Regions from separate parts of the Homo sapiens genome. Here all the other regions are linked to region 1. Evidence: promoter capture Hi-C in 16 types of primary human blood cells and fetal thymus (Javierre and others, 2016). All regions are on one chromosome and are shown on one strand. The core of a region is centred on a gene start or on the middle of the fragment in contact, and the rest is flanking DNA. Distances in the headings are between cores, read along the strand shown.

Region 1 (2,897 bases), core at 270-2,769:
CAAGGATTTGACATGGGTCTCAGTAGTAAAAACGGGTGCACACCCATAGACCAGAATCTCTCACGAGCATCAAAGTCCAGCTCAGCTTACCGGTCTTTGTTAAGACGGTCATCTTTGATCACCATAGCCATAACTGCCATCCGGTACATGTGATCTGAAACGCTCTCCGGCCTCTGGACATTTCTGTATACCCAGCCAGTTCGTGGGACTCTCTGATAAATATGAAGAAGAAAAAGAAGTTTTAAAGAACAAATATTAACTATCTGCTATGCTCTTCAAGAGATGTCCAGGATATAACACACAGAAGCCGGGTCATAATTTCAGAACCTATTACAAAATGTTTTGCTAAACTAGCTAAAATGATAGACATCTGGAATCAAATGAACTAGAGAGCTCAGAGAATGAAAGGGGTAGAAGACAGAGAGAGATAAGTCACAAAGTCCATTCGTCAAATTATTCTGTTACTGATGTATAATTATGGAACATATGCAAGTCCTTTAAACAAAAACAAAACTGCATTTTTCCGAACAAGAGTTGCGGCTTTTTGCCTTCAAATAATCCTACACAAGCAGAAAACACTGTATTGAAGGGTCTGAACGTGAACGAGTGATAGGCTTCCAAATTCTGAGGCACAAGGGATAAGGGCACTTCTAATTGCTTGATGCTACCAGCCGTGACTCTTCCTTTTATTCACATCATAACTTCATCTTGTGAAACTGCATTTCTTCCTCAGAATTCTACATCTCTAAGGAATGTTATAAATAGTAGTCAGAGTGGCATGAAACGGATAATTTACTTTGAACTTGGGAGAGAGACGGGGAAGACGCACATGATGAAACTCGTGTGTATTACATTAAATCCCGTTTGGGGGGTGGCCGGGAGAAAAGTCTTGTTTCTGGAAGTAACTGTGAGACAGACATAAAAAGCTCCACTTAAAATCTGAGGAGCCGACAGATTCTGTTCTTCCCACCCGTGCTCAGAAGCAGCCGCGCTTTACACACACACACACACACACACGAGTTCTGGGGTCGTGAGCACACACACACACACACACACACACGAGTTCTGGGGTCGTGAGCCCCGGAAAAGCTCAGTGCAGGCAGGGCCAGGCCGGCTGCTCTCCGGGAACTGGCGCGGCTGCAGTGCGGACCTCGCGGCGCCAGGCTCTAGGCTCAGACTCCGGGCCGCCCCAGCTGGCCAGCCTGTCCCGCCGGCTGCTTCCTCCGTCCACCGTCGGCAACGCGCGGCCGCATCCGCAGGACTGGGGCCTTTCCGGAATTCGGCGTGGCGGACGCGGCGCAGGAAGGGCAAAGACCGCCGGCCGAGCGGGGAGGCCGGAAGCTCCGCCGCCCCACAGTCCCGCCCGCTCGGCCGCGGCCTCCCGGCCTGGTGCCCGCTCACCTTGAGCTGCCCTACCAGCCGCAGGAACTGCAGTAGGGACCGAGCCCCGTGGCCCGAGAAGGTCGCAGAGGAGACCGAAGCCATGCGGCCACCGACCCCGGCTGGGCGGAGCAGGCCGCGGCGAAGCTCCTCCCCGTCCTCCTCCTCCTCCCCTTCCCCTTGTCTTTCTTCCCCCTCCTCTTACTCTTCTATCTCTTTCTCCTCCCCCTCTTCTTCTTCCTTCTGCCCCTCTTCCTGCTCCCCCTCTTCCTCCTCCCCTTCCAACTCCTCCTCCTCCTCCCCCACTTCCGCTTTCTCCTCTTCCTCTTCCTCCTGCCCCTCTTCCTCTCTCCCCCTCCTCTTCCTCCTCCTCCTGTTCTTATTCCTCCTCCCCCTCCTCCTCCTGTTCTTATTCCTCCTCCCCCTCCTCCATATTCTCACGGTTTTCTCAGGACCTTCTGTCCAGCCTTCGCCTTCTTGGCCTTGGTGTCCGCTGCTTGGGCATTGCTCCGTCAGTGGCAGACACCTTGCTTGGCACATACTTGACACTCAGTACTCTTTATGAAAAATAAAGCTCTCCTTTCTAAATTTATGAACCTCGTTATTCTTCAGTTGACAGTGTAAAACCATGAAACTGGATGAGGTCACCTGGCAAGAGGGTGTGAATGAAGAAGAAAAGACACCCAAGACCTGAACCCCAACATTTAGGCTTTGTGAGATCAAGAGGGAACAGCCAGTGAGGTAGGAAGAGGATTAGTAGGTAGGATAGTTGTGTCCTGGAAGCCATGTACAAAAATATTTCAAGAAGGAAGGAATATGGTCAACCAAGTCAATGTGAGGACCAAGGTTTGACTTCCAGACTTAGTAAATTCAATATTATTGGTTACCCTGACAAAAGCAGTTTTCAGTGTAGTGGGCCAAGCAGAACCTAGTGAGATAATTCCGAAGAGAATAGGAGCAAGTATTACAGCACATTGGAGATGGGGTTGGGGTGCTGTTAACTAGTGGAGAGATTGTTTCAAAACAGGAGATATTATGTATGTTTACTGATGAAGGGGATCTAGTAGAAAGGGAAACATTGATTATGTAAGAGACAAAGAAGAGAAATATTTGAATGTCGGCCTTGAGTAAGGAAAAATATTCCCATCTGGTGTACAAGATAAAAGATGGGCTTTAGATAGGAATATGGAGAATTCATTCAAATATTGGAGGAGGACAGAGTATAGGGTGACTAATCAGTCGCACATGTGGTCATGGGAGGTTGTAGAAGTTCTCTTCTGATTGCTTCTATTTTCTCACCAAATTAGGAAGCAAAGTATAGGCTGGGATGTTATAATAACAAACAACCTCCTTATTTCCTGTATCTCAGCAGTTTAACACATCAAAGGTTTATTTCTCTCTCATGCTAAGTGTCTATTGTAGATCAGCTAGAGGATGCTGCTTGCTCTAACCTTACTCAGGGAGCTAGGAGGCTTTCTTTGCTCTCTTTTGCCAAAATTGGAAAAAAGAAAAGTGGC
Region 2 (2,897 bases), core at 199-2,698, 880 kb after region 1:
GTCTCCTTTCCCTCTCTCCACCCCTTATCCCCTTTCTCAGAGATTAATTGAGGAAACATTTAAAAAAGTTTTCAGTTTTGGTTAGGAAATAACATCATTAAGCAAGTTTTGCTGGGTGATGTGTAATCACTGAAACGCCAATTTGTTCAGGAAGCAGGAATTAACACCTTTGCTCTAGTGAAAAAGAAATTGGTACAAGACTTTAAGGAAGTCAAAATGATGAAGTTTGGATTAAGCTCTTAGCAGGAAAGGCAAAGGCCACAGTGAAAGCAATCCTGAGCTGGCCAGCCCTGTAAACAACTGCTAGCCCCTGGTTAAGTGTCTTTTTCTTTTGACATAGAGAAGTTAAAATATAGTGCAATTTAATATAGTCAGCACACTTCACCCTAAAATCCAATCAATTTATTAAAGAAAAAAAGGTCCATTCAACCCAGCCATTATACATGACTCTATAGTTCTTGGAAATAACTATAGTCAGCTCTGGAAACAGAAAACTAATCCAACTGACCACTTGAGGGAGGTGGTGGGTTATCTTGTCTAGAAAAAGGACCTCAGTTCCTTCTTTGTAGTGTGCAATTTTAAGAACTTTGAATACCTCCTGTGACCTATGGGTAAAATGAGATCACAGGAACCCAGACAATGGCCTTTTCTCCACTTGGATCTATAATCTAATTTTCCTATAAAGTAAGGGGAATAAAATAGATTTACAGAACACTTGTGATGGTCTAGCTGATGGATCACTTTAAAAAGAGAGAAAGAGGCAAAGTATGGGTAGTTTATTTTCACAAATCAGTTTTAGTTTTTTTCTATGAAATTAATGAACAAGAAGCCCATTAAAATGATTGTTACAATTCTTCTTTTTAATTGTTTACTCTATTAAGGTGACAATACTTGACAGCTTGATATATGAACAGTGTTCACTTGCCCAACATAAACATCAATTATAACATGAAAATGCGATGGTCCTTCAACCCTTCATTCACTCATCCAGGTTAAATGCAGAATTTGGAAAGAAACCAAAATTAAAGTTAATTTTACCTAGACTTCAACAGATGTTTTTTAACAAGAAAAAAAAAAACAAAGAAATTGTGGCTGAAGAAAAGTTAGCTGAGATGAAGAGTAAAATGGGTCATGTAGGAACAAAGTCATTGTATTTCATCAGAGTCAAGAAAATTATTAATTATTGAAATGGGAAATCAAATCATTAAAGTATGAATACCATTGGCTCTCTGATTTCTTCTTTCCCAGGTATCATAAAATATGCTTGAACTTGGGTTAATTCCTCTTGGACTGAATTGTAGTGCCATAAACCAAGCTTTTCAAAAAGATTGGATGCAAAACTATTATGGCAACAGGAATTTTTATCAACATAAAGCAGGATTTAATGCAGGTATATAGTATATAGAGTCAAAAAGGATTATAAGATTTATAATGAAAAACAGCAGTACTCTACTTCTCCATTTGCTATCCCCAACTCTCGATGTGCAGATACCAATTTCAACTTGTTTAGCTATTTCTTCTGGCATCTAATTCCAAATGGCTAAATAACATGTTTATACTAATTTCTTATATATGTGCAATAAAGCTTTAGGTATTTTCTATTGCTTCCTCTTATTGGAGAAAAGAATCCAGCCCTATCAACTCTCCCCACACCACTTAATATATACTTCCCATTTCCTCAGCCTCTAAATGCTGGTAAATTACCATTTTTGGTTTAACCTCTATTCTGTGTTTGCTTTATTATGACTACATAAATACTATACACAGCTGAGCTCAGAAGGGTGCTCTGACCTTTTTTTTCAACTCTTTGCTTTCCTAAATGAAAAATTGCACGATTTTTTCATTAGCTGATTTTTATATTTCTACTACTGATTCATCCCCCAAATCCAAGGTATACAGCCTCTCTCAATGCAAATATAATAAGTGATCCATCAGTTTCATTTTTTTCAAAGTATCCATCCCCTTTCCCTTAAGCCCTCTGGCTGCCTCCTCCCACAACTGGTTGTTCCCTGTGCCTACTGCAAGCTCTGGTCCAGGGTCTTCCCCTTACTATCAAACTGGGGATTCTCTTTAACCCTTTCCATTGTTATATTTTAAAATTTCAAGAGCGATCTTATGTTTTCAGAATACTCTATGTTAAAAAATACATAACATTATTTTCTTATTTCATCAGATGGAATAGTGCTTTTATTTAGCTTTCTAAATTTATTTATTATAGTTTCTTTAAAGTTTTTATGGTAGGCACTGGATGCAACACTCAGATCACCCTTCAAGGAAAGAGTTGTTGCCCAAGATCACCTTCCCTTTTTGAGGTAGCCACACCCAAAGACTGTTCCATGTGAGCTATGAGTGCTTGGCCATCTTGGCCCAATGTGGGAGAGTTCTGAAGGGCTGTTCTAGCCCCAGACACTGAGGCTGAGGCTGTCATGGGACTGGCCTTGCAGCTTGCCTTCTTTGTTAGCCCACCCCTGCTTTTGTCCCCTCCAAAGTGACTCCCTAATAAATATCTTGCATGCTCAAGCCCATTTCAGAGTCTACCTCCCAGGGAAACATAGCTGTGACTATATTCTTCTTCATACAATATATCTGTCTCTTCTAAGTTACTTTTATTCTGTTTATGCATTGTAGACTCTGACTTCTATGCTAGATACTTTCTGTTCTGCCTTATGTGAAAGACAAGTTGATTGAAATCCTAAGTATGTATAGCGCATGTTTCCTTAGGGTCACCATGTAGAAAAACTGAGAAAACCAGCTGTTTATTTGGTGTCTAGGTCTTTTTTCTTGACCCCAGACAGTTTCATCTTTTCTCCTGCTTGGGGAGCATAAACCTGGCTAGCAGCTTTCTGGGATCTAGTCAGGGAAGCGGTTGGGAGTTACATTATCAGTGTAAACATTTT
Region 3 (2,897 bases), core at 145-2,644, 720 kb after region 1:
GGCTAATTTTGTATTTTTAGCAGAGACGGGGTTTCACCATTTTGGCCAGGCTGGTCTTGAACTCCTGACCTCAGGTGATCCACCTGCCTTGGCCTCCCAAAGCACTAGGATTACAGGCGTGAGCCACCACGCCCAGCTGAAGAATTTTTTAACTGCTATTTTTTAATCTTTTTAGTATGGTGCTTTGGGAGTGTATTGTTAAATTAATTGGCTCATTAATATAATAGATTAATTGTTAAAAATGAATTAAGATCGAGTCAAAAAAGATAATATGAAACATGCAAATATGTTTTTCTGCTGTTAAAACCAAATGCAGCAACTTAGTTTAGCAGTTTAGCGTCATTCATGTCATAGATGTTAATTAAAATTGTGTTGGTACCTTGGATTTGATTGATAAATTTGCTTTTTGGGTTTTATAGTTATATTAGGGATCTAAACATGAAGAGTTTATATCTAATTTATGCTTGTGCATATTTAAGTGACACCTTAATAAAAAAATACTTTAAGTCAGTCCACCAGGAAGTAAAAAATTTTTTTCCTTTAAAAATTAGTATATTACTTAGTTTGACACAAACTGTTTCCAGCATCTATAGATCCTACGGTTTGCAAGCTTAAGGTTAAGGCTATATCTTCTCTCTGTTAGCACTTTTTATTTTAGTCTCAACCATGGTGTAGAATATATTCTTTCTACTGTACTCCAGCCTCGGCAACAGAGCAAGATCCGTTCTCTGAAAAAGTAAAAAAAGAATTTATTCTTTCATGTCATAAATGCATTGCATGAAGATTCAAAATTTGATGTCATTGTTATAAGAAGTACAACATTTCTGGCTATGTAGTGAACATTAAAGAATTACTAGATGAGGTGAAATCTGAAGTGCTCATTACTTGTTAGAAAGCTCTAGGAAGAAGTCAGAGAATGACTTCAAGATAATTCTTTCCACTGATAATAAAGTGAAGTGCATTATGAATGATGCTTGGGAAGTGGGTGATGATGGGTTTGAGCATATGGTTGAGGTAATAGGGAGAGCTCGTTGAAGGTCAGTGGGACCTAGAAAAGTTCATGAAAGAGTGGTGGTGAAAACAGTGTTGATGCATTAAAACAGGTAGCTGAGATTGTGGTCCTTTACATGAAAAACTAATCAGCACCTTTGCTATTTTGGAGCAGACCTTTAAGATTACCTGTATAATAAATGTGTGCAGACACCATCCAAAAAGGTGTAAAAAATTGCAAAGGAAAAATAAATACTGGCCAACACAGTGTTCTTAAAAGTACCCATGCCTAGTGAGTCCCCTCCCTTGCTGTTCTTTCACATTCTGTTCCATAGCTGTTTCTCCCACCTCTGTTACCTATTTCTTTGGCCAAGATTGATGCTAACAACCTGTCAGATGCCAGATTCTGAACTCCTGCTATTGACTCCTGCTTTCTAGACATTGTCATCATCTTCATCCATGTAGGACATGTGCTGTACAGTAGCAGTCTCCACCACTCATTGGCATATTTTCATTTTGTTTCCTGGTTCATATGACCAGAAGACTGATGTAATCTGTAGTGTTTATTTTAGTTGTAGTTTATTTGAATAATTTTACAAATAACTTTAGTTCTGTATTTACAAACGTAATAGAGATGTTTTTAAATTAGACGTTTAAATTTTAACAAGACGTTATTAAAATTTTACGGGCACTTCATTTTAGAGGGGAAAGTATATGCTGTAGTGGATTATACACTTCGGGAATTTATAAAAATCTACAGATGAATCAGTCCTTCATGAATGTCAAGGGATGTTGTTGAGTGTATTTTTGTCTACTCTTGTGGAATTCTGTAGGGTGGAATCATCTTGTACTTTTGTGGTTTAAATGTTTGGCATTCTTCAACAAAATGTACTTACAATATTTCTCTCTCTCTTATTCTACAGGTAAAAAATTTAACTGCATTTTTGGGATATGATAAAATTAAGCTACTTTGCTTATAGATAGTTTATGGATCATGTGGACAGTTAGCATATGTGGGGAAAAAGAGCATGTAGTGGAAGAACATCCCACACTACACTGGACGATCCCCATGATTCTTTGTGGCCCACACATGTGAGTGTTCCTAACAGTCAGCTGTTCTTTCTTCAGATACACTGAAGAGATGGTGCCTTGGCACCCTTGCCTGGAACTCGTTAGCAACTGCGAGCAGAAGCTTTCCAGTCACACATCAAGGCGCTTGATCACAATGGAAAAGGTGAAGAAATTTGAGGTAAATTGCTTCAGTATTTTTGGGATAAATTCTGAAAGAATCAAAAGTAGTTGTTTCTAAATAGTTTTCCTGTGATAGAGTTTGGAAATGTTATTCCTTGATATTTTAAAAATTACAGATCAATTTAGGAAGAGGCAGAAGTTGAAGAGATTTGTGGCATCCAGTTGGGATTGAAGGGTAGGAGTTGGATATAGACATAGACATTGAGTAGAGTTCAAATAGACGTTGACCCTCACTTCTCAGGCTTTATTTGATATCCTTGTTGCTAACTCAGTTATAAAACAGCATTATTAAACAACTGCTATCTAATTAGCAATGTCCTAGTTACCATTTTTCTCCAAAAGCAGAACCTACTTGATTGCAGACTGTAATGAAGAGAATATGTTGCTTTATAAATAAAGAGAGAAAGTAAATGTCCCCAGTTTGTTAGGGCCCAACACATTCTCTCTTTGTCTCTCTCTTACATACAAAATTCTTACTCTCTTACATTCATTACATTCTTATAAAATTCATACTCTCTTACATACAAAATTCATTTAAGCTTAAGAAAGAATGAAACGTTTGTTATTTCATGCCCAGACGAGAGTTGACATGAATAGTGCCTCATAATGGAGCTTAATTAAATCTACAAAAGCTCTTTGGGCTGTACTTCTGTCGA
Region 4 (2,897 bases), core at 104-2,603, 700 kb after region 1:
AATTTTTGTTTCTTTTAGCAGGGAAATGAAATCTGGATTATAGATCCTTTCAGTGGACAAACTAGAAAATATATATGCATATATACACAATATGCATGTAAGTGCATGTGCAAATATACATGTATTTATTCTTATATACTGTGCGTATGCACATACACATGCATATACGTATTTTAGACACTGTGAATTTGCACATATACTATAAATTGCAGTCAATCCTTACAGATTTCCTTTTGACTACCCTATTCTATGTTTATGTGTACCTTCTTCCACAGTGAGAACCCTGATTCCTAGCTACATCAACACATTTACTCTTTTCCTCATTCCTATATCTGAAATGGTTTCACAGTTGTTTTGCTTATGCCACTTAAAAATATCCTGTGAATAAGAGTTCAGGATGTGTTTTCAGTTCTTCACCCTAAGGGGCAGTAAAGTCAAATACTGTGCCTGCTTTTTCCCTTTTCATTTAAAATTCATTTGGGTTCATTTGTTCCAGTTTGCCCTCTGTTTTAGGTTTTTATCTCCTATCCCCCACTCCTTATTGATTTACTTTTATTTTCAAATATGTATAAGATGAACTTGCTTCCAAAAGTCAGAACTACACAAGAAGTGGTACTCAAAGAGATGTCACTTTACCTTTATAACGCTTCCAGCCTGTTCTCCCACCTATCCTAGGTGACTAACTTCATTGTTTTCTAGTTGATTCTTCCTGTTTCTTTTTGTAATGATAATACATTTTCTGATTCATAATGGAATATATACATTTTCTTATTTTCGCTACTTTCTTACACAAAAGGTATCATACTGTGTGTGTTGGTTTTAACTTTGCTTTTTTCACTTAATGGTATTTCCTGGAAATCACTTCCTGTCAGTTCATGGAGCTTATCTTTATTCTGTTTTAGTTTTGCTTCATGAGTGTATGTACCGTAATTTATTCAAACAATCTCCTATAGTTGGACATCGGTAGTTTTCAGTATTTTACAGTTACAAATAATGCTTGAAATGACTAACCTTATGAATATATACCTTTGTAATGTTGGAGATGTAGCTCTAGGGCAAGCTTATCCAACCCGCAGCCCATGGACCACATGTGGCCCAGATGGCTTTGAATGTGGCCTGATACAAACTTGTAAAGTTTCTTAAAACGTTATGAGAATTTTTGCAATTTTTTTTAGCTCACCAGCTATCATTAGTGTTAGTGTATTTTATGTACAGCCCAAGACAATTCTTCTTCGAATGTGGCCCAGGAAAGCCAAAAGATTGGACCCCTCTGTCCTAGGGTAAATTCTTACAAGTAGGATTTCTGGGTTGAAGAGTGTATGCATATGCAGTTTCATTAGATACTGCCAAATTTGTCTCCATTATACTATTTTGGATTCCTACCAACAGTTGTAGGAGAGTCCCTGTTTTTCCACAGTCTCACCAGCAGAGTATATTTCAGGCTTTTGAAGTTTTGCTTGTTCTGTTGGGTGAAAAATGATATCTCAATGTAGTGTTAATTTGTATGTCTATGGTTACGAATGAAGTATCACAATTTTTTATATTTTAAGGGCCATTATGACTTTCTTTGATTTGTCTTTTTTTGTCTTTTGCCCATTTTTTGATAGCATTTTTGGTCTCTTTCCCTGATTTTTCAAGGTCCTTTGTAAGCTTGAGATACAACCTCCTCACACTCCCCTTATTTTTCTGTGATGTATGCTGCAGTATTTTCCCTTAGCTTGTCATTTATCTTTTGACTTTGCTACTAATTGATTTTTGCCATGCAAAAGTTTTCCCCACACTCAAGTTATAGAGGAATTCATTTGTGTTTTCTTCTAGTGCTTTTGTAGTTTTACATTTTTTCTTTTTAGATCTCTGGTTCATTTGGAGATTATTCTCCAGTATGATGTGAAGAATGGATTTAATTTACCTTTTTCCAAATGCTAAAGCTTTTATTCTTAATCTTGTTCTTGGACTTTAAAAACTTTTTTTGTCAATTGAGAATAATTCTTTTAGATATATACATGTAGAAAATGATTAATATATATACATACACATAGACTAGACCACAGAGTTAAAAAATATGGTTGCCAGTATGGGTAATATTTTTTTGTTGAGTAGATGAGGCTAGATTTTGAAATTATCTTCACAGCTGTCAATATATGGACCATTTATAGTGTGTTGAGGGGCAAGGAGACCTGCTTCTGTTTGCTTTAGGGCAGCTCCTCACAGTGGGTAGTATATTTGGAACGTCTGACTGTTCATATAGTACAATTAATAGAAAATGAGAGGAGGATCTTTGCAAAGGTGCTGCTGAAATATATTTTCGTAATTTGTGTTTGTAGTTTAAGTATAGCTTTAGGACATCAGTCAATTTTTGGTGCTTTTGTTTTGAAACATAATAACCAATAATTGTGAATAGACACAGGTCTTAAGCACAGTTTGTCCTCTCTTGGGCCTTTTGCCTCATCGATGGGTGGTACCTTCTGAAGGACTGGAGAAATACGTAGCTCTGTGTCCTTCTCCATGGCCATAGTTTTCACAAAACATTTGTTGATATTTTTCTTTTGGTTGCCTTTTAAATAGTTTTTTAAAAAAAATTCATGTGTCTAATCCCCTTTTTATTTTAAAGGTACAAAATTGAAATGTATGTAGTTTCCCAAATGTATTGCTCACTTACTACTCATGGTTCGTGATTTTTCTCAGGGATATAGAGTAGGGTAGAAAGCTTCTGGGAGACTGAAAGGAGAAAAATAATCTTTTCATGCCTAAATACTTTTCCTTTTTTCCTTTAGACTGTTTGCTACTGTTGTTTAGAATGACATTATGAGCGGCAGAAACACACTTTTCTTTCAATTTTAACAAATACATTGGTTTTCATTTTAGTAAAAATTCTTTTTTTAAAGTGTGTGTCTCCA
Region 5 (2,897 bases), core at 133-2,632, 640 kb after region 1:
GCAGTGGCGCGATCTTGGCTCACTGCAACCTCTGCATCCCAGGCTCAAGTGATCCTCCCACTTCTCAGCCTCCTGAGACCTAGCTGGGACCACAGGCACGCACCACCACGCCTGGCTAATTGTTTGTGTTTTTTGGTAGAGACAGGGTTTCACCATGTTGCCCAGGCTGGTCTTGAACTCCTGAGCTCAGGCAATCCACCAGCCTCAGCCTTTCAAAGTGCTAGGATTACAGGCATGAGCCACTGTGCCCAAACTGCCTGGTTTTTAAAGTCTGTCTTCTTGGAAGAGGTCACCTAATGTCCTTGCCATTCCTGCCTTAAAAATAATAGACATTCATCAGTCTGTTAATCTTATATACTTCTGGTGAGGAAGACAAACGGTTAACATAATGGTGTCAGAGAGTCTCAGGCCCTACCAGGGTATTTTCTCAAAAGTCTCCCTTAAACAGGCAATATATAGAGAGAGGAATGAAAAAAGAAGATTTTTGTCAGTTTGTGTTTTACTTTGCATATCTGGACATATATTTGCGCTTATTAATTTGGTTATACGACTTTTTTAAGGAAGTAGCATCCAGAAGTTCAGTTGTCATAAGAGTAAGCATTTACTGAACACTTATGTGCTAGGTACTATTCTAAGCACTCTACGTATATTACTCCAGTCTTCATAATAACTTGTGATAGTCATGAATAGGTACTACTATTATTTTCCAGCTAAGGAAAATGGAAGCCATAAAAAATTAAATGATTTATTTGAAGTGGAATCACTACTAAGTGGTAGAAATGGGCTTCAAATGAAGGGAGTCTGGATCCCCCAGTCTATGCCTTAAACCACCAGGATAACTACAGGAAATAGCAAGTTAGTGGGGAGTACAGCAGAAAGCAGGAGGCTGTGGTGAGACGGAATTCAGGGAATTGGTGGGCCGCTAGAGTAGGCTGGTTAGAGAAGGAAGTAAAGATGGGAGGGTGGCTGGAAGAGTTAAAGAGAGAAAGATCAAGAACAGAAATTGCTACCATGTCAGGAGAGTATAAAAGTTGCTAGGACATGTGCTGACAGAGCTGTGAACAGTCATTGTTCAGGTTTCCAGATAATCTCAGTGATTATAAAGTTTGGATTTGCCACAGGGGTGAGTTGTGTTAAAGAGGAATAGAGGCAAAGGGCATTGAAATCCAGGAGTTTGAGAAGCGGTGAGTCATGGACAGTGAAGTTGTCTAAGATAACGGCAGGAGCTTGGCAGTGTTTGTTAGCCAGGTGCTGAAGTTCTCTGTGAATCTAGGAGTGATCTAGAAGCAGGTAGATGAAGGTGATTATGTTCCATGCTATAGCACGAGACTCCAAAGAGGGCAGAGGGCTGGGCACTGTGGCTCATGCCTGTAATCCCAGTACTTTGGGAAGCCGAGGTGGGTGGATCACCTGAGGTCAGGAGTTCAAGACAACCCTGGCCCACCTGATGAAACTCTGTCTCTACCAAAAATACAAAATTAGCCAGGCTTGATGGCGCACGCTTGTAATACCGGCTACTTGGGAGGATGAGGCAGAAGAATTGCTTGAACCGAAGAGGTGGAGGTTGCAGTGAGCTGAGATCGCACCATTGCACTTGGGTAGGAATGGAATCACCTGGAGCTGGCATTTAGAAGCTAGGAGAATGCCAGCCCTGCTTCCAAATCTCTCAGTGTGTTGGGAAGAGAGAATAAGCAGTTTTTGCTTGTCAAAGCTCAAGGGAAATAATATTCTTGCAGGAAATCCAAGTTTCAGTTAAGGAAAGAAGGTGAAGATTTCGCTCTGCTAAGAGGTTGAGGATATAGGTTTGAGTAAGTACAAAGAAATTGTGTTTCTTACAGTGGAAAGAGCTTCAAAGGAGGTTAGCAGTGAAAAAAGTTTGGGGAAAAGAAGCATGGGAAAGTTTGGGTATGAGTAAAGAGAAATTTTTACCTCGAGGGTAACTAATAAGAACAAGAGTTAGTGGTGTGGATAAGATACATTGGCCTTGAGATGATGAGGAAATATAGGTGTGAGCTTGACAAGAAAATTGACATTAACTTCAGGATGTCAGAGTTATGCTGATTTACATGGTAGCTGTTTCGTACTGCTTTGGAGGAGATAAGAAATGCCTCACTGTGCTACTAAAAGGCCTGCAAGACAGACCCATCTATCATCCACCAAGTAAATTCATCTTCCTGTGTCCTATTTTCTCCATTTCTAAAATAGGGATAATAATATCCTTTTCTCTCAGTTGACATGAAAATCAATTTGTGCATATGAAAGTGTCTTAGAAAATTGTAAAATGCCAGATGAAAGTAAGTTAGAAATATGATGGTGTTAGTCACACCCAACTTTGTTTATGCTGAATTCTTTATCAAAAATACAAAGTCCAGGTGTAGCCTTGTTCCTGATTTAAAAAAAAAAGAAGAGATTATTTTCAATGCTTTGTTTAAGGACATGGTTTTTAAGAAAGATTATAAAAAACAGAAATGTCTGCATTACATCCTGTAGACGAGTAAACAAAGCAATTTATCAAGGAAATAGCAGGGATGGGGAAGTTTTGCTTTTGTCATTCTTTCCATTAGAAATAATTTACACTGTTTCCACTTAACAACAGATCAGGACTTCCCTTAATGTCCTTTAGCAAAGCTCAAAGAGCTACAGTTGGGACTTTGGGCCACCGGCCAGTATTTGTTCAAAGAGAGCTGTACGGTAGTTCAGTAATCAGAAACTGGAAATTTCTCTTTTCCCACACACAAGCACTACTTCCTCCCCTTATTTTGCCCAGACATTTCACAATCCTTGCAACGGATGGAGGCCAATATACACGCAGCATTTAGTACCAGGCAACAGCCACCTTAGCCTTAAGTATTTCTTTTATTATTTTTCTTAAGGAGGGAGAAATGTTTTCATGCTTG
Region 6 (2,897 bases), core at 268-2,767, 620 kb after region 1:
CAGTGCCATACCAGTGCCTTTCCCAGGTAGCCAAAGTAGTGCCCACAAACCTTGCCTGCATTTTGGATGTGATGGAGAGTCAGTCAAGGCCATAGTGTGTTGTGCCTGAGGGGCCCAATTGTTAAGAAACCACAGAGAATACACTGTACCGTTCTTGATTGTACTTTTGCCTGTGTTACAGTTGGTCTTTCTTGGAGGAACTAGTGAAAACTAGTTATTACCCCTTGTCCCTGCACTGTTATCTCTTCCCGTAAGTCAGCTCAGAATGGGAGTGGAATCTGTCCAGGTTTTTTTCGGTCACTTTCCTGTCAGTCTCTTGCATCATGAAAGGAAGACATCATTCACATCTGCTCATTGCTCATTTCAGTTTGACCTGTGTTCTGTTAGAAATTCCTCTAAGATTTTAAGATGCAGCATTGAGCAGATTTTCTGTCACTGAAGCAGATTTTACTCAACATTTATTCATTCATTCATTCATTTATTCATCCACTCAGCAAATATCTAATTAGAGCCTGTTAGGCGCTAGGCACTGTTAAGCATTGGGGAGCTTACTGTGAAGCACAACATTTTTATACTGAGACATGTCCACGTTGTAATGAGCCATATACATGGGATCATTTTACAGGAAATAGAACTTTGCTGTCATGATTTGCCTTGGGAAAAATTAGGGAACAAATGGGGGTACCAAAGACACTGTCTTTCTTAGCAGTGATCTTTGTGACTTTATCGTAATATTATTGTAGCTTAAGAGTTGTGGGAATTAATTTAGCTGTCATTGTTACTATTGTTATTTCCTGATTGCTGACATTTTGCTTAATAAAGATCCAAGCTGAAAGGTGGGTAGAGTCAAGATAAAAAAATTAAAATAATGATAACAGTTGGTTTAAAAGAGACTTAGGAATTTAGTGAAATGTTCCAGAATTGGATGTTATATTTTGGATGAGGTATGGCTATATTATCTTAGAGCACACATACAGACTCTCACCTAAGTATAGATTATTTGTCCTATTTACTTACCAAAATATCACACTTGTTGAGGAATGTGATGGTTCACACAGAACAGGTATTGATGAAGCACAGTTTTACCAAACTTCCTGTGCGATTTGTAAAGGAGGCCTACAACTGAAGGTTGCAGTCTTGTCACTGGGTGGAGTCTTGCTGAATCATGTACCCTGGAGGCACTTGTGTCATTTGAGGACAACCAGACACTAACTTTGCTTTCTGCACCCCATCTACCCCGAAGGGGAAACTGTGGCTTTGCTGTGTTTGAGAACATGATAGAACAACACCTGCAAATGTGTCTGAAAATGAATTATATGACATTCTAATATAAAAATATTATATATGTAGACTGGCAGCAATGAGGAGCTCTGCAGAATCAGTCCCCAGTGAAAGAACCATAGCTGGTAGAAATAACAAAAACAACAATCACTTAAAGTCTCTGGAAATTATTCTAAGCCAGTGAGGGAATATTTATTCAAGAAAATCTAATTAATCTCAGTTATAACAGTGGGACTCTGTGGCACTTGAGGCACAACTCTCTCCCTTCCCTAACCCCCCGCTGAGACTGACAGTGGTTCCACTCTGGGCATGTATGGCCAAGAAGATGGGGCACTCTCTTCCCACAGCTGCCAGTCAAGGGTTATGGTGTACCCTCTCTCACTGTGGGTCCCCTGTATTTCTTATCTCCCACCCAAGATCAGTGTTTCTGAGGCTAAAATCCAAGCAAGTGTGGCCTAGAGGTAGGGGGCTTTCTTCTTCTACCCACCCTCCACTCACAGAGCCATGCTCTACGGTAGGCATGGCAGGCTGAGAATACAGGGGTCTCTCCTGCTCTCATTTCAGCTCACAGGGCAGAAGTTTTGCACCAGATGAGGCAAGCCAAGACCAGAGGCTGCTGTCACTGTCTAGTCCCTAGCTTCAGAGCAGTGGGTTAGAGATTTTTTTCCCAGGGGAAGAGGCAGGCCACAGGACATAGAGTTCTAAAGCTCTACCCAAAGGAACTGACTTTGTTTAGACACACTTGGGGAAGTTCAAGCCAAAGGGCACTCTAGAAAACAATGAGAATTTTGGTGTTAAGAAGAAGGCTGTAGCCATGAAGGCAACAAATTAAACTGTAGACCATCTACTTTACCAGAGAGATCCAAGAAAAGAGACAGCTATGGAGAGCCTTTCTGGAGACAGGGTAAACTTCATAGTCTGGCCAAAGAAACTATCCATGCAAAGGAACCTACATTTAATTGAATCAGACTGTGGAATAATTTACACCACCAGGCATTGTTGACAACAATAGAACAATCATCAGGCAATTAATAGAGACTAATTACTAACTTCCAGTGAAGTATAGAAATGTTACTCCTATTTTGCTCTATTACATCTTTTAACTTTTTGTGGTACTAATGTTATAAATGTTATATCTGTATATATTACAAATATAGCAATAGATTGTTATGATTACTATGTTACATAATTTTATGTCTGCTAAGGAAGTTGAGAGAAGAAGAGCAAATGTACATTTATATGTTTTGTTATATGACTTTCCTTTTATCATTTCTGGGTTGCTCTTCATCTATTCCCTTGGATTCCTTTGTTCTGCTATTGCTAAATGTATTACATTTTTATATGGTATAGGCTGAACAACACTATTATATAAAAGTTGTTTTATACAATTTTTTTAAATACATTAATAGAAAAAAAGACATTTTCTCATAATCACAATGCAATAGATCTAACAAAATTAACAGTAATTCCCCAATATCATCCAGCCCTTAGTCTTTAAATGCATTTCCAGAATTGCTAAGAAAATTTTAGCTAAAAGGCCAGGTGTGGTGGCTCACACCTGTAATCCCAGCACTTTGGTAGGCCGAGGCAGGTGGATCACCTGAGGCCAGGAGTTC
Region 7 (2,897 bases), core at 283-2,782, 600 kb after region 1:
TAATAGTGCCTACCTCACGGGATTATAATGAGAATAAATTAGCATGCCCATGTATTAAATGAAAATTAGTTGCTGCTGCTGCTGCTATTACCTCTCCTTCAATCTGTTGTGCTTTGTTGCCTGAGTTAGGTGCTGCCTTCCAAGAAACTATCATTTACCTTCTTTGAATTTCTTCTTTAGAGATGACAACTCTATCTGCTAAACAGGGATTTGTAATTTGAATATGGTGTCTCCTTTGGGATAAATCCCTAAAGGAGCCTTGTATTGAAGATAAAGACCTTTGAGGTGTATGAAGAAATCTGATTAAGGCCAAATTTGTAATTAAACAGAAAACCTAAACAAAGGTGAGGGCCAGATTTTAGATGGGTTGATTTTGTGCCTGGCAGAGCATGTATGGCAGGTTTCTTCCCATGCCCTCTGCCACACCTGGGGTCTGGCCTTGACCATCTCCTGCCTGGATCACCATTGCAGCCATAGCAACAAGGCCTTTATTTCTAGTTGATCCTGTCTCTTCCTGGCCTTCCCTACTTGGCTCCACAGCAGTCCTTCTCAAGCACAGATTTGTCCATGTCTCTTCCTGCTAAAGCTATGAACGCATGGCCTCCCTGTGCCTGTGGTTTCCTATGGCAGCTTCAGCTATTCACATACATTCCCTCCCTCACAAATATCCCTAGATCTGCCTACCATCTATACTACTGTTTACTTAATGGTTGTCTTTAAAGGATTTAAATAGTAATTTTTTTTACTTAGTCTTTTCCTAAATAGCAATATCTGTGAAATCAGAAAAATAATATGCTAGTAGTACTTATTTTTACTACCTTCTTTTTTTTTTTTTTGAGATAGAATCTTGCTCTGTCACCCAGGCTGGAGTGTAGTGGCATGATCTCAGCTCACTGCAACCTCCACCTCCTGGGTTCAAGCAATTCTTCTGCCTCAGCCTCCCAAGTAGCTGGGATTACAGGTGTGTGCCATCATGCCCAACTAATTTTTTTCTAATTTTAGTAGATACAGGGTTTCACCATATTGGACAGGCTGGTCTCGAACTCTTGACCTCATGAACTGCCCACCTCAGCCTCCCAAAGTGCTGGGATTACAGGCATGAGCCACTACCCTTTAAGTACATATGTAAGTATTAAAATATGTTCTTCTGCATACCCTCTGAAGTCACTGGGACTGCCCCACCACACTTCAGGAAACAGTGGCCACAGGCTGAGTTCCAAGTATTTTATCTTATGCTTGGGACTTTCTGTGACCTAGTGACCCACCTGCTCTGTCTTCTTTCTTCTTATCTCCTACCTTTCCATTAAGCAAATGGTAAGTCTTGTTCTTTTATTCCTCCTCTCAGGAATTCCTTCCCTGCCTCTTGAGTTCCTATTCAACACCAACATCCCAGCTCCGATGCCCCTCAGCTGTTGTGTTGGCACTGTGCTAACATTTTTTTGTTTACTCTCCACCACCTGAGCACCTTGAGGCAGGGCCTGGGTATCCTGCATCTCTGTCCTTTTTACAGAATTCTTTGTCAGAAATCACCAGTGATCTGATGGCATTGTCCTCCTTTTGCTCTGCCATGTCCACTTTGACCTCACTGCAGCATCCCCCTGGTCTTCCAATGCCATGTCTTTGCATGGGTTCCCTCCAGTAGAATGCTGTTTCTCCTTCCTACTGTAATGGACTCTTCTGCCTCCCTCAACACCCAGTTTAACCATGGCCCCTGGGAAGCCTTCCCCTACCCCAGCCTTAGACACTTCACTGGGCTTACCTTTGCCATGATTCTTAATTTAAAAAGAAAGCAATAGTGTGAGCACAGAGCCAGAATGGACACTGGCTGCATTTTGGAGACTGGTGCAAAACAAAGCTCCCAGGCAGCCCCAAAGAGGTCACATTTATCCCAAAACCTATGAGGAGACATTGGGAAAACATTACAGGCAGTTAGGTGAAATGCTCAGGTTTGCATTTTATGAGCTCGATTTTGCCTGTCTGCTGTTTCTTCTTGGCCTTGTGCTAGGACGGCTCTGCTTTCTCCTTAAATATTAGTGGTTTCTTGGGACCCAGTACTTGACCCAGTTCTCTGTTCATGGGTGTTACCACACACCCACTGCTTCAGCAGCAGGTAGCAGCCAGGGTGAGTAATTACTAGTAATTCTGTTCACTCATCCATCAGCCCTGCTTAGTGTCCTGAGGTAGTGGAAGCCCAGAGAAGCTCAGTGGTTCATCCAGACCACAGCGTGAGTCACAGAGAGTTTCCAAAAAGCCATTGACAGACCTGCCAAGGTTAAAACGGGTGATGACTGAGATACTGCTGATGTTTACAGTGGATGATCTTTGAGAAGATCAGCTTCACTAGAGTGGTGAGGGAAGGAATAAGATTTTTTTTTTTTTTTTTTTTGAGACAGAGTTTCACTCTTGTCGCCCAGGCTGGAGTGCAGCGGTGCGATCTCGGCTCATTGCAACCTATGCCTCCGGGGTTCAAGTGATTCTTCTGCCTCAGCCTCCCAAGTAGCTGGGATTACAGACCCCTGTAATGCCACCATGCCCAGCTAATTTTTGTATTTTTAGAAGAGATGGGGTTTCACCATGTTGGCCAGGCTGGTCTAGAACTCCTGACCTCAAATGATCTGCCTGCTTCGGCCTCCCGAAGTGCTGGGATTACAGGCGTGAGCCACCGCACCCAGTCAGGAATAAGATTTTAAAACCTGCCACCTTCCAGAAAATACCGGAGCCAGGTTCGATTTAACAAAGGGCATATACAGAAAGGTGAACAAAATCAGAATAGAAGAGTTCAGGAATGAAAAGAAATTGGGAAATCTGCCAGCCCAGTTGTCAACAATACACTCTAAAGGGAAAGTGAGGTGTGGGAGGGACTTTGGGAATAAATAAAATCCGAACCCTTTTTTAAA

Evidence for each region. Contacts are between HindIII fragments. The CHiCAGO score rates a contact against its expected background, and 5 or more counts as called.
Region 2: a fragment that was not itself captured here is called in contact with the fragment with the promoter of HDDC2 in region 1 in 2 of 17 cell types (total CD4 T cells and activated CD4 T cells); the score reaches 6.3 in total CD4 T cells.
Region 3: a fragment that was not itself captured here is called in contact with the fragment with the promoter of HDDC2 in region 1 in 4 of 17 cell types (activated CD4 T cells, non-activated CD4 T cells, total CD4 T cells and 1 more); the score reaches 6.2 in activated CD4 T cells.
Region 4: a contact is called between a fragment that was not itself captured here and the fragment with the promoter of HDDC2 in region 1, in 10 of 17 cell types (total B cells, naive CD8 T cells, naive B cells and 7 more). The highest score is 13.8, in total B cells.
Region 5: a fragment that was not itself captured here is called in contact with the fragment with the promoter of HDDC2 in region 1 in 5 of 17 cell types (naive CD4 T cells, erythroblasts, fetal thymus and 2 more); the score reaches 9.2 in naive CD4 T cells.
Region 6: a fragment that was not itself captured here is called in contact with the fragment with the promoter of HDDC2 in region 1 in 4 of 17 cell types (total B cells, non-activated CD4 T cells, total CD4 T cells and 1 more); the score reaches 9.4 in total B cells.
Region 7: a contact is called between a fragment that was not itself captured here and the fragment with the promoter of HDDC2 in region 1, in 6 of 17 cell types (total B cells, monocytes, naive CD8 T cells and 3 more). The highest score is 9.6, in total B cells.

Annotation. Positions count from the first base shown.
Region 1 is chr6:125,300,448-125,303,344 of GRCh38, forward strand. It overlaps HDDC2 (HD domain containing 2), which reads right to left and starts at 1,520. Exons shown (of 6, transcript NM_016063.3): 1 at 1,402-1,520; 2 at 91-212. The coding sequence starts at 1,485. RefSeq lists a silencer at 1,210-1,549. The HindIII fragment of the contact is 13,888 bases long and covers 1-2,897 here.
Region 2 is chr6:126,175,946-126,178,842 of GRCh38, forward strand. It overlaps a transcript of TRMT11 not described here. Among named protein-coding and RNA genes, the nearest start is that of CENPW, 160 kb to the right of the region's middle. The HindIII fragment of the contact is 270 bases long and covers 1,314-1,583 here.
Region 3 is chr6:126,019,042-126,021,938 of GRCh38, forward strand. TRMT11 (tRNA methyltransferase 11) reads left to right here. Exons shown (of 13, transcript NM_001031712.3): 12 at 2,119-2,239. Among named protein-coding and RNA genes, the nearest start is that of TRMT11, 34 kb to the left of the region's middle. The HindIII fragment of the contact is 1,572 bases long and covers 609-2,180 here.
Region 4 is chr6:126,002,111-126,005,007 of GRCh38, forward strand. All of the region lies in intron 7 of TRMT11 (tRNA methyltransferase 11), which reads left to right. Among named protein-coding and RNA genes, the nearest start is that of TRMT11, 17 kb to the left of the region's middle. The HindIII fragment of the contact is 590 bases long and covers 1,059-1,648 here.
Region 5 is chr6:125,941,956-125,944,852 of GRCh38, forward strand. No RefSeq gene overlaps it. Among named protein-coding and RNA genes, the nearest start is that of HINT3, 13 kb to the right of the region's middle. The HindIII fragment of the contact is 5,560 bases long and covers 1-2,897 here.
Region 6 is chr6:125,923,212-125,926,108 of GRCh38, forward strand. The region is part of intron 13 of NCOA7 (nuclear receptor coactivator 7); the gene reads left to right. Among named protein-coding and RNA genes, the nearest start is that of HINT3, 32 kb to the right of the region's middle. The HindIII fragment of the contact is 5,398 bases long and covers 1-2,897 here.
Region 7 is chr6:125,902,888-125,905,784 of GRCh38, forward strand. The region is part of intron 10 of NCOA7 (nuclear receptor coactivator 7); the gene reads left to right. Among named protein-coding and RNA genes, the nearest start is that of HINT3, 52 kb to the right of the region's middle. The HindIII fragment of the contact is 8,983 bases long and covers 1-2,897 here.